Regions from separate parts of the Homo sapiens genome. Here regions 2 and 3 are each linked to region 1. Evidence: promoter capture Hi-C in 16 types of primary human blood cells and fetal thymus (Javierre and others, 2016). All regions are on one chromosome and are shown on one strand. The core of a region is centred on a gene start or on the middle of the fragment in contact, and the rest is flanking DNA. Distances in the headings are between cores, read along the strand shown. Region 1 overlaps KIF15 (kinesin family member 15). Region 2 holds the start of ZNF660 (zinc finger protein 660). Region 3 holds the start of ZNF852 (zinc finger protein 852).

Region 1 (2,861 bases), core at 24-2,523:
CCTGGACCAGAGAGACATCCCTCCCTCCCTCCTTGGAGAACCTTCCTGAATGTTGTAGGCTTCTCTAGGAATATCTCTCTCACTGGTGAGTAAAAGACCATTTCTTGAAGGAAAACAGAAGCTACAGTGAGGTTTCTTTCCCTTAACAAATCTGGCAGCCCAGACAAAAATGGTAATGAGTCCTCAATGAAGAAATACCCCAAATCATTAGGGAAAGATATGTTTTCTGTCCACTAATCCAAGGATTGGCAAACGTCTTCTGTCAAGAACGAGACAGTAAATATTTCAGGCTTTGGGAGCCATGCGGTCTCTGCCACAGCTATTCAACTTAGCTATTGTAGTGCAAAAGTAGCCACAACAATATTAAAATGACAGGGTGTGACTATGTCTCAATAAAATTTTATTTACAAAACAGGTTGTGAGCTGAATTAGGCCCCTGAGCTATAGTCTGCCCTTTCTCTAATTTTTCACAAAGAAGGTTCTGAGTAGCTCTTTTATATATAAGGAATGTGAGGCTATGAAATGAAAAACTTTTTTTTTTTTTTTTTTTTTGAGACAGAGTCCTACTCTGTCCCAGGCTGGAATGCAACAGTGCAATCTCAGCTTACTACAACCTCCACCTCCCCGGTTCAAGCGATTCTCCTGCCTCAGCCTCCTGAGTAGCTGGGATTACAGGTGCGTGCCACCACTCCTGACTCATTTTTTGTATTTTTAGTAGAGACAGGGTTTCACCATGTTAGTCAGGCTGGTCTCAAACTCCTGACCTCAAATGATCTGCCTGCCTCGGCCTCTCAAAGTGCTGGAATTACAGGCGTGAGCCACGACACCCAGTGAAAAACATCTTTTAAAAGACATTTATTCAACATCATGATCAGACTATGACATTTGGCAATCAACAGGATGAGTGCAAAGGAAAAAAAAAACACATTAAAACTCTTTGTTAAGACTGCTTTACACTTTCCACAGAACAGAAACTAAACTAACCTGTTATACAATTAGTCACAAATACGGTCCTTGAGTTTTTTACCCATACACCTGAGTATTGTCTAAAACATATCTTCTTTGTAGCAGCTAGGCCCTGCTACCAACTGTGCTTGGCTGAGTTCACAAATCTGTTGTAACCTGTAGTTTCCCTGTCACTTCTCTGGCTCTCCTCTCCTGCTAAGCTTTGTTTCCTGGCATTAATTAAAACCTTCTGCCACTGCCATAACTACTGCTGCTACTGGAACTGCCTGTCAACCTAAAAAGAAACTCAGAAAGACAGGCTCTTTAGAACAAACAAGTTTATCTAGGAATAGCAGAGGGATTGCAATTGCAGGGTATGCAAGCTATGACGGGCCATTAATGTATCCAGGGGAGTTGGGGAAAGGGAAAGCTTTTAAAGACAAAGAGAAATCCATGAAATAAAGCTTGAAATAAAGCTCACGGGTCACAGAAGCTCAGTGCAGGAGTTGGCGTTTATTCATTGGTGGAGATGGCTGTTGCTGAGTAACTGTCCTGGTGCTGGCAGCTTGTCTGAAATACTGCAGGCCTGAAAAATTCCTGTGATAAGCTCTGTTGCAGGGTGAGTGCAGAAGTGGGGCATGTGGGACCTGCAGGAATTTCTTGTGATAAGGTATATTATAGGCATGTGCGGTGAGAACTTTTTTAGGGCCTCCTGACTCCACTTTGTTAGGGTTTTGACATAAGTGACTCCATTCTGGTACTGGCAACTTTCACATGCCTTAGCCACCTTGATTTGATGTTTTGGCAACATAGTAGCCTCAGCCACCACAGGGGCCAGAGTTTCTTTCTTTCTTTTTTTTTTAGGTGCCAGAGTTTCTGTCTCCAAAGTTTCTTCTCTTCATGGGTTCAAAATTGATTGAAGATTGGTTGTTGTAATTACCAAAATCGTTGTAGTTCCCACCATCTCCAAAACTGCTTCCATCATTTAAGTACTAAATCCATTATAGCCATCCCTGCTGCCCCCATATCCACCAATACAGCTGCCTCCAAAGCTACCATTACCAGTGAAATTTTTCCTTGATGACCAAAGTTGTTACTCCCACCAAAACCACCTCCATGACCACCACCAAAGTTTCCAGAACCACTCTGACCTCTCTGGCTGGCTGAAGTACTAACCATTTCTTTCTTCAACATGGTTTTCCATACTTCATGGTAGTGGCTATGTACTTTACGGTATTTCTGAGAGACAATCTTATTCGCAGAGTCATGGCTGTCCTCAAAGGTTAAAAAAGTAAAGCTCTTCTTTTTGCCATTGCCTCACTCAGTCATGATTTCAACCACTCCTATTTTCTCATACCTTCACAATAATCTCTTAGGTGATGTTCTTCAGTGTCTTCTGTGATGCCACCAACAAAGATCTTTTTTACAGTTAACCAGGCACCTGGTCTTTGAGAATCTTTTCTTGACATCCCTCTTTGGTTTCACAACTCTTTCATCTGCCTTGTGTCGCCTTGATTTACGGCTGCATCCATCTCCTCCACAGTGCCATCTGTGAAAAACCAAAGGCCCTGGAATGCTTGGTGTTTGGGTCTCTCATTGCTATATAATCCATGAGCTTTCCTCACTACTCAGAATGGCTCCCCAGACTCTTATTGGTTGTTTCAAAGCTCAATCGTCTGATGAAGAGCTTCTGTAGCTATTCGGGCTATTTAAGAGACTCTGACTTAGATATGTTGGTAGTGGGAAGAAAGACTTGAACGATGCATCCTTAGTGGCATCCATGGGCAAAAGTAGTAAGCTTATGACGTATCTCTGAAATACGGTATTTTAAATTTTCATTTTACAAATGATCCGGAAATGTTCTATGTTCACAGTAGCTCTTGACAAAAGACAGTATACTAAATATAAGGCTTTTC
Region 2 (2,719 bases), core at 119-2,618, 260 kb after region 1:
ATAAATACCACTGAGAGAAGCTCCCTTTCAACCCTGGTGCCCACAAGCAGGATTCCTGTGCCCAGACTAACTTCACAATCTAGGCCTCACCTGCCCAGGAGAGAATGGAATGACTCACCCATATTCCTGTGCACAGCAGCCTCAATCCAAAGGATCTGCACAGCACAGATCTTGCCTGATCTCCTCCTTGAGTTCAGTGAAGAAGTTCCTAAGAGGGTCTTGAGTCACTGTAAACAGATATAAATGACTGAGTTCTCTGAGCCCTGAATTCCAAGTGGACACTCAGGGCAGTGTCCCATCTTTGGGTAACTTCCCTTCCTATAGAACTGTGGGCAGTAAGAAGGATCATTTCCAGTGTAAAGATGAGGGAATGAAGCTCCCAGGGATTGAACGACTTGCCCAAGGTCCTATAGCTAGTGAGTGATTAAAAAGCCTTCTGTGTCTTCAGGAAATCCTAATTCCATCACACCACAGCCTCCCCTTTTCACCTGCTCCATTGATATCTAAAAGCTTCCATATTCTCATCTAACTGCAAAATACAATGCAGTGGAGAACTTCCTTGCAATCCAGCTTTCCACAGAAAGTCTGCACAAGGGGGATGAGAGGGAGAACTTTGCTGAGTCAAGTGTCTTTAGGAAGACAGAAAGAAACAAGTCTTTAAAAGAGCACTAGAAAAAGAATGTTCCTTTTTTCTGTTTACCCATTTCTTAGGATTACTAAGCCTCAAATATGTTTTGTGTTTCCCCCTCCAGATCCCCAGGCTCTGCTTCTAACCCTTGAAGTTTGTTTCATTTCTCCCCTACTAGAATTTAGTTCTGTCCTGTACACAACCATAACCCCAGGACCTAGCACACTACTGGGTTAGTGCTCAATAAATATTTGTTGAATGAATCAATGAATGAATGAGTAACCTTGGGCAAGACTCCGTCCTCTTCTCTGGGCCCCAGGTTCCTCACTGGTAACGGGAGGGATATTGGACTGGTGATTTGAGTCAAATACTCAGGGGCTGTGGAGTCCTGAGAGCCTAGGCGGGACTCGACCGCTACTACCCGGAAGGCCCACTGCCTAGGAGCGGGGACGACACAGTGCTGTCACCACGGCCAGCCTGGTCCAAGCGAGCAGCTACGAGGAGTCAGAGACTGGACCCAAGACAAAGGGGCAGCACTGAACGAGAGAAAGGGGAGGCCCACAACGACCCCTTGGCTGCCGCGCCCATCTCAGCAGCGGGCAGCCGCAGAGGAGCCCTGGCCTCCTGGCTTGCGTCTCCCACACGCTCCCAGAACCCGGCCCGACCCCCCACGCCAGACTGTAGAGCACCCCTCACCGAAAGCGCCAGACCCACATCTTGAACAAAGCGCAGAAGGAACTGCGTCAGCAACTCCCAGCTAACTCCCAGCCTGTCCCTCCGGCCCTTCTAGGCTTCGTGAGGTTTCCACATCTCTGTGCCCGCGGGCTGGAGTCCCCCCGCCCCTCAGAAGCCCCGCGCGGTCGGCCGACGCTCTGGCCCTGCCTCCCTTCCGGGCTTTGCCCTATCATTGGATGGAAGGGCTTGGCGACTTCAGCCAATGTGAGGAGGGCCCTGGAAGTGGTGGAAGCTGGGCAGGGGGCTTGGTTAGGGCGGAAAGAGACCGAGCATCTGGGTGGCCAGGCTGCCAGCCTCAGGCTGAGACTCCCTAAAGTTACACCCCCAGCTCCGGTTGCTGAGCAGAGAGGTCATCTTTCCTTCCACAGATCTGGGTCATTCAGCCTCAAAGCCAGGATCAGCTATGGTTTATTGGCAGCATATGAAAAGACGTTTTGGGTGCCTACTATGTCACTCACTGTTCCAGGCGCTGCGGATACAGTAGTGAAGAAAATGAACTCTCTGCCCCATTGAGTTTACATTCAAGTCAAGGAGACAATGATAAATAAATATGTAGAACGTAGCAGTAAGGGGAGAGAGGGAGTAAGGGGAGAGAGGGAGATAGTGGTGGGACTATTTTACAGATGACAGGGAGGGCAGAGACAGGAAGTGGGCAATTGAAGCATGTGGCTATCTGGGGAAAGAGTATTCCCATAGTGGGCCATTAGGAGCAAAATTCTTTAATCAGGAGTGGGGTGGAGAGGTGCACATTTAGGATCTTGTAGACTATGATAAGGGCTTTGGATTTGCTCTGCATAACAGCTGGAGGGCTTGGGGACAGAGGAACGACATGATCTAACTTTTTTTCCCTTACCACATATTCAAAGACTTGTTAGCTATGAGACATGAAAGAAGCCAAGAAGCCTGTTACTATAAATTCTGTGAATTCTTTGCTGTCTGTCCTTAGCCATTCTAACATAAACCTTGCATGAATTTTGCTCTTTGACTTATATTTTTAGTTTGCTTTGGCTGTCTTGTTGAGAACGGTCTGAAGGTGGGTAAGAGTAGAATCAGGGAGATTAAGAGGCCATTACAATATTCCAGATGAGGACTGATAGTGGCTTGGACAGGCTTAGAAGTGATGCAGGTAGTGAGAAATGGTTCTGCATATATTTTGAAGGCATGGCCTGCATGATTTGCTAATGAATTGAATGTTGGTTACTGATGACTCCATGGTTATTGATCTGAGCAACTAGCATGGGATGGTCTTTTAGAAATCGAGTAGCTTGAAAGGAACAGGTTTAGGGAGAGGGATTAATAGTTTTGTTTTGGATGTGTTAAAGATGCCAATTAAACATCCAAGATGAAATGCCAAAC
Region 3 (3,044 bases), core at 175-2,674, 340 kb after region 1:
CACAGTAGCTAGGACTACAGGCGTGCACCACCAAGCTCAGCTAATGCTCTTTCTGGTCTGAGTTTTGACCCTCATCCTAACCTGTTGTTCTTTGAGTACACTCTGGGCCTTGATGCGTTGGGTCATTCCTGCTTTCCCAGGTGGTAACCGTTCCTGGGCAGGGATTTTAGTTTTCCTTGGAATCTTGCCCTCCTCACTATCCTGCCCACAACCTTCTACCCCTAGCTTCTGGGATCTCAGCTAGGAGCCATGCTATCCCCAACTCTCCCTCTACAGGGACGTGGGACGGGAGAGCTTTTATGAAGCACAGTAGTGAAAAGACCAAAAGATTTGGATTCAGTGGCTATTCCAGTTACTGACTCTATTTCCTTGGGCAACTCAAATCAATGCATGGCAGCCAGTGTGTTATGAGCTACCGGAAGTATACAGAAAAGTACCAGAAAAAATACAAGCATTATCATCAGTCGCTGTCAATTAAATAACTCTGTTACATTTCAACAGTGTTCGTAACCACTTGACATTGATGTATTTGTGTAATTTCTATTATCTGTTTTTCCCACAAAGCTGTAGCTCCATCCAAAGTGGGCAACTGAGTGTCTTGGTCAGTCATGTGCAGCCTGATGACCCTTGAACAGTTGCAAAAGTGCGCCTAGGGCTTGTAGCATTTACTTAAAAGGGGATAATAAACTCTCACGGCCAGTGCTGGGCTTATTGCCTTGTTTGGGAATTTCTCCATTCAAGGGTTTTATGTTTGGGGATGTGCTGGCCCTATTTTTTTGTTTGTTTGTTTTTTGAGACGGAGTCTGGCTCTGTCTCCCAGGCTGGAGTGCAGTGGCACGATCTCGGCTCACTGCAACCTCCGCCTCCCAGGTTCAAACGATTCTCCTGCCTCAGCCGCCGAAGTAGCTGCGATTACAGGCGCCGCGCCACCACACCCAGCTACTTTTTTTTTATTTTTAGTAGACACGGGGTTTCACCGTGTTAGCCACCGATCTCCTGACCTCGTGATCCGCCCACCTCGGCTTCCCAAAGTTCTGGGATTACAGGCGTGAGCCACCGCGCCAGGCCGCTGGCTCTATTTTCACCGCTAGCTTTGGATCCCTTTCTTCCCTGAAGGAAAAGAGGCCTCCAGGGCAGCCGTGCAGAACCGATGGGAGGGATGTAGGATAATACGCCAAAGCCGATAGAGTTCTGGAGCGCGCCTGGGCATCAGAGCGTGGAAGACAAGTGTCCGCGGAAGGAGGCGAAGGATGCTGGACAAGCCCCGCCGCCCGCCGCCCGCCGCCCGCCGCCCGCCGCCCGCCGCCCGCCGCCAGCGGCCCTGGGCCCAGGGAGAAGCAGAGATGTTGGCCCTCCCAGTTTCCTAGAGAGGCCGCAGAGGGCCCGGGGAGGCGACGCGCGTGCGCAACTGGGGAAGCTGGGAGGTAGGCGCGGGGCGGTCGGCTGCGGTGGCGGCGTTTGGATGATTGTCTCTCGGCGGCGGAGTCGGTGAGCGGCCCGGCGGGGCGCGGGGTGCGGAGCGGGGGCGGCTGTGCGTGCGAGAGTGGCAGGTGAGGCCGGGCCTGGAGGCTGCACCCGGGGCGGGGGTCTGGCCGTGGATCCCGCCCGGCCGCGCCGAGGGCATACCTCTTCGCCCCCCGGGCGTCTGGGGCAGAGAATCTGGAAAATTCCCGGTTTCTTCTGGCTTTATCTTTTCACCCAATTATGCGAATAAAGCGTACTTATTAGAGACAATTAGATAAGTGGAAGAAAAGTGAAAGTAGCCACCGTCCGGAAATCTTAGTCTCCAGGTCTCCTGACATTGAAAACATCTGGCATAGACTTCTCCCTTTTTCTTGTCTTATTTCACTTCCTGGCACCTGTCGCCGTCTAACATAGCATGTATTTGTTTATTGGTTATCTTCCCATAAGCCCCTTGCCAGGGCAGTGCTTTCTGTTTGCTTTATTAACTGCTGTTACCTTAGTGTATGGGAAATAGTAGGTGCTCCTAGAAGGTGTTTGTTAAATTAATGAAAGAAGGAATATCTAAACTGGGAGACAAGAAGAATTGACAGTTTTTAATGTCTTTTTTTTTTTTTTAAATAGCCCATTGCCAAGTTAAGAATGTAAGAGTGACCTTGAGCCTGGAACATTTCCTTGCAGAGTTAGAGCCCTCACAGCCTGTGCTGCTGCATTTAATGCCTTGTGTCTTTCAGTGTTTCAGGCTTCATGTGTACTCCTTTGTTGTGTTTAATCTCTTAAGTCAGTGGCCTTCATTCATTCTCTCAGCCTTCTGTATTTCACACCCCATAGGAGTGGGGAGGGTGGATTGAGATCTTTCTTCCTTACTAAGTGGGGTGTGTGCATCACACCAGCCCTATAGCTGTGGAGTGGATCTGCTGGGTGTGGGGGCTCTTTGCATTGCAGGAGGCTGGATCTTGTTCCCTGTTTCTCCTTTTGCTGTAAGTATACGCTGTACCTCTTGGGGCCTGATGTGGTTGGTATCTGTCCTCAGCGACCTCAAATCATGTGCTATCCCTTCCTTGGATGGCCTTTTAATCTTGGCAGCACAGCCTGGCCACCTGGTGAATAGTGGAACAGTCATGGTGATGCATAAGGATCTAGTATGTTCCTTTTAGGTGCTGTATGGTATTTCATCCTATAAAAATGCTACTTTTATTTAGCCATATTGATGGACAAGTAGGTTAAATCCAGTATTATGTTATTACAGAGAATATTTTAGTAAATACCTGTGTAAATGTCTGAATACCCGTGCAAGTGTTTTTCAGGGCAGATTCTTACAAGTTAAATTCCTGTAGCGTAAGGAATATGTCTTTTTAGTTTTACTGTGGACTTTCAAACTATCCTTCCTGTTGGCTATTACATTTCCACATCTATTAGTGGTTTGTGTTTGGTGTTTTTTTCTTTTGCTTTTCTTTTGGACAGAGATTTTTTTCATATTGATGTATTCAAATATATTCACTCTTTTCATTTTGTTGTCTTAAGAAATTCTTGGTTACACCAGGGTTCTTAGAGTCTTTATGGTTTTTTTCTTTTTTTTTTTT

Evidence for each region. The method cuts DNA at HindIII sites, captures the fragments that hold promoters and counts their contacts. A CHiCAGO score of 5 or more calls a contact.
Region 2: a contact is called between the fragment with the promoter of ZNF660 here and a fragment that was not itself captured in region 1, in 1 of 17 cell types (naive B cells). The highest score is 5.1, in naive B cells.
Region 3: the fragment with the promoter of ZNF852 here is called in contact with a fragment that was not itself captured in region 1 in 5 of 17 cell types (naive CD8 T cells, fetal thymus, total CD8 T cells and 2 more); the score reaches 7.5 in naive CD8 T cells.

The regions. Positions count from the first base shown.
Region 1 is chr3:44,844,463-44,847,323 of GRCh38, reverse strand. The region is part of intron 30 of KIF15 (kinesin family member 15); the gene reads right to left. It also overlaps the pseudogene HNRNPA1P77. Among named protein-coding and RNA genes, the nearest start is that of MIR564, 16 kb to the left of the region's middle. The HindIII fragment of the contact is 209 bases long and covers 1,169-1,377 here.
Region 2 is chr3:44,583,613-44,586,331 of GRCh38, reverse strand. It overlaps ZNF660 (zinc finger protein 660), which reads right to left and starts at 1,368. Exons shown (of 3, transcript NM_173658.4): 1 at 1,325-1,368; 2 at 119-227. It overlaps ZNF660-ZNF197 (ZNF660-ZNF197 readthrough), which reads right to left and starts at 1,368. Exons shown (of 8, transcript NR_147692.2): 1 at 1,325-1,368; 2 at 119-227. All of the region lies in intron 2 of ZKSCAN7-AS1 (ZKSCAN7 ZNF cluster antisense RNA 1), which reads left to right. The HindIII fragment of the contact is 2,337 bases long and covers 513-2,719 here.
Region 3 is chr3:44,508,997-44,512,040 of GRCh38, reverse strand. ZNF852 (zinc finger protein 852) reads left to right here and starts at 1,424. Exons shown (of 4, transcript NM_001423469.1): 1 at 1,424-1,488. RefSeq lists enhancers at 970-1,029, 488-1,264, 1,265-2,041 and silencers at 1,250-1,299, 1,430-1,489, 1,500-1,659. The HindIII fragment of the contact is 19,774 bases long and covers 1-3,044 here.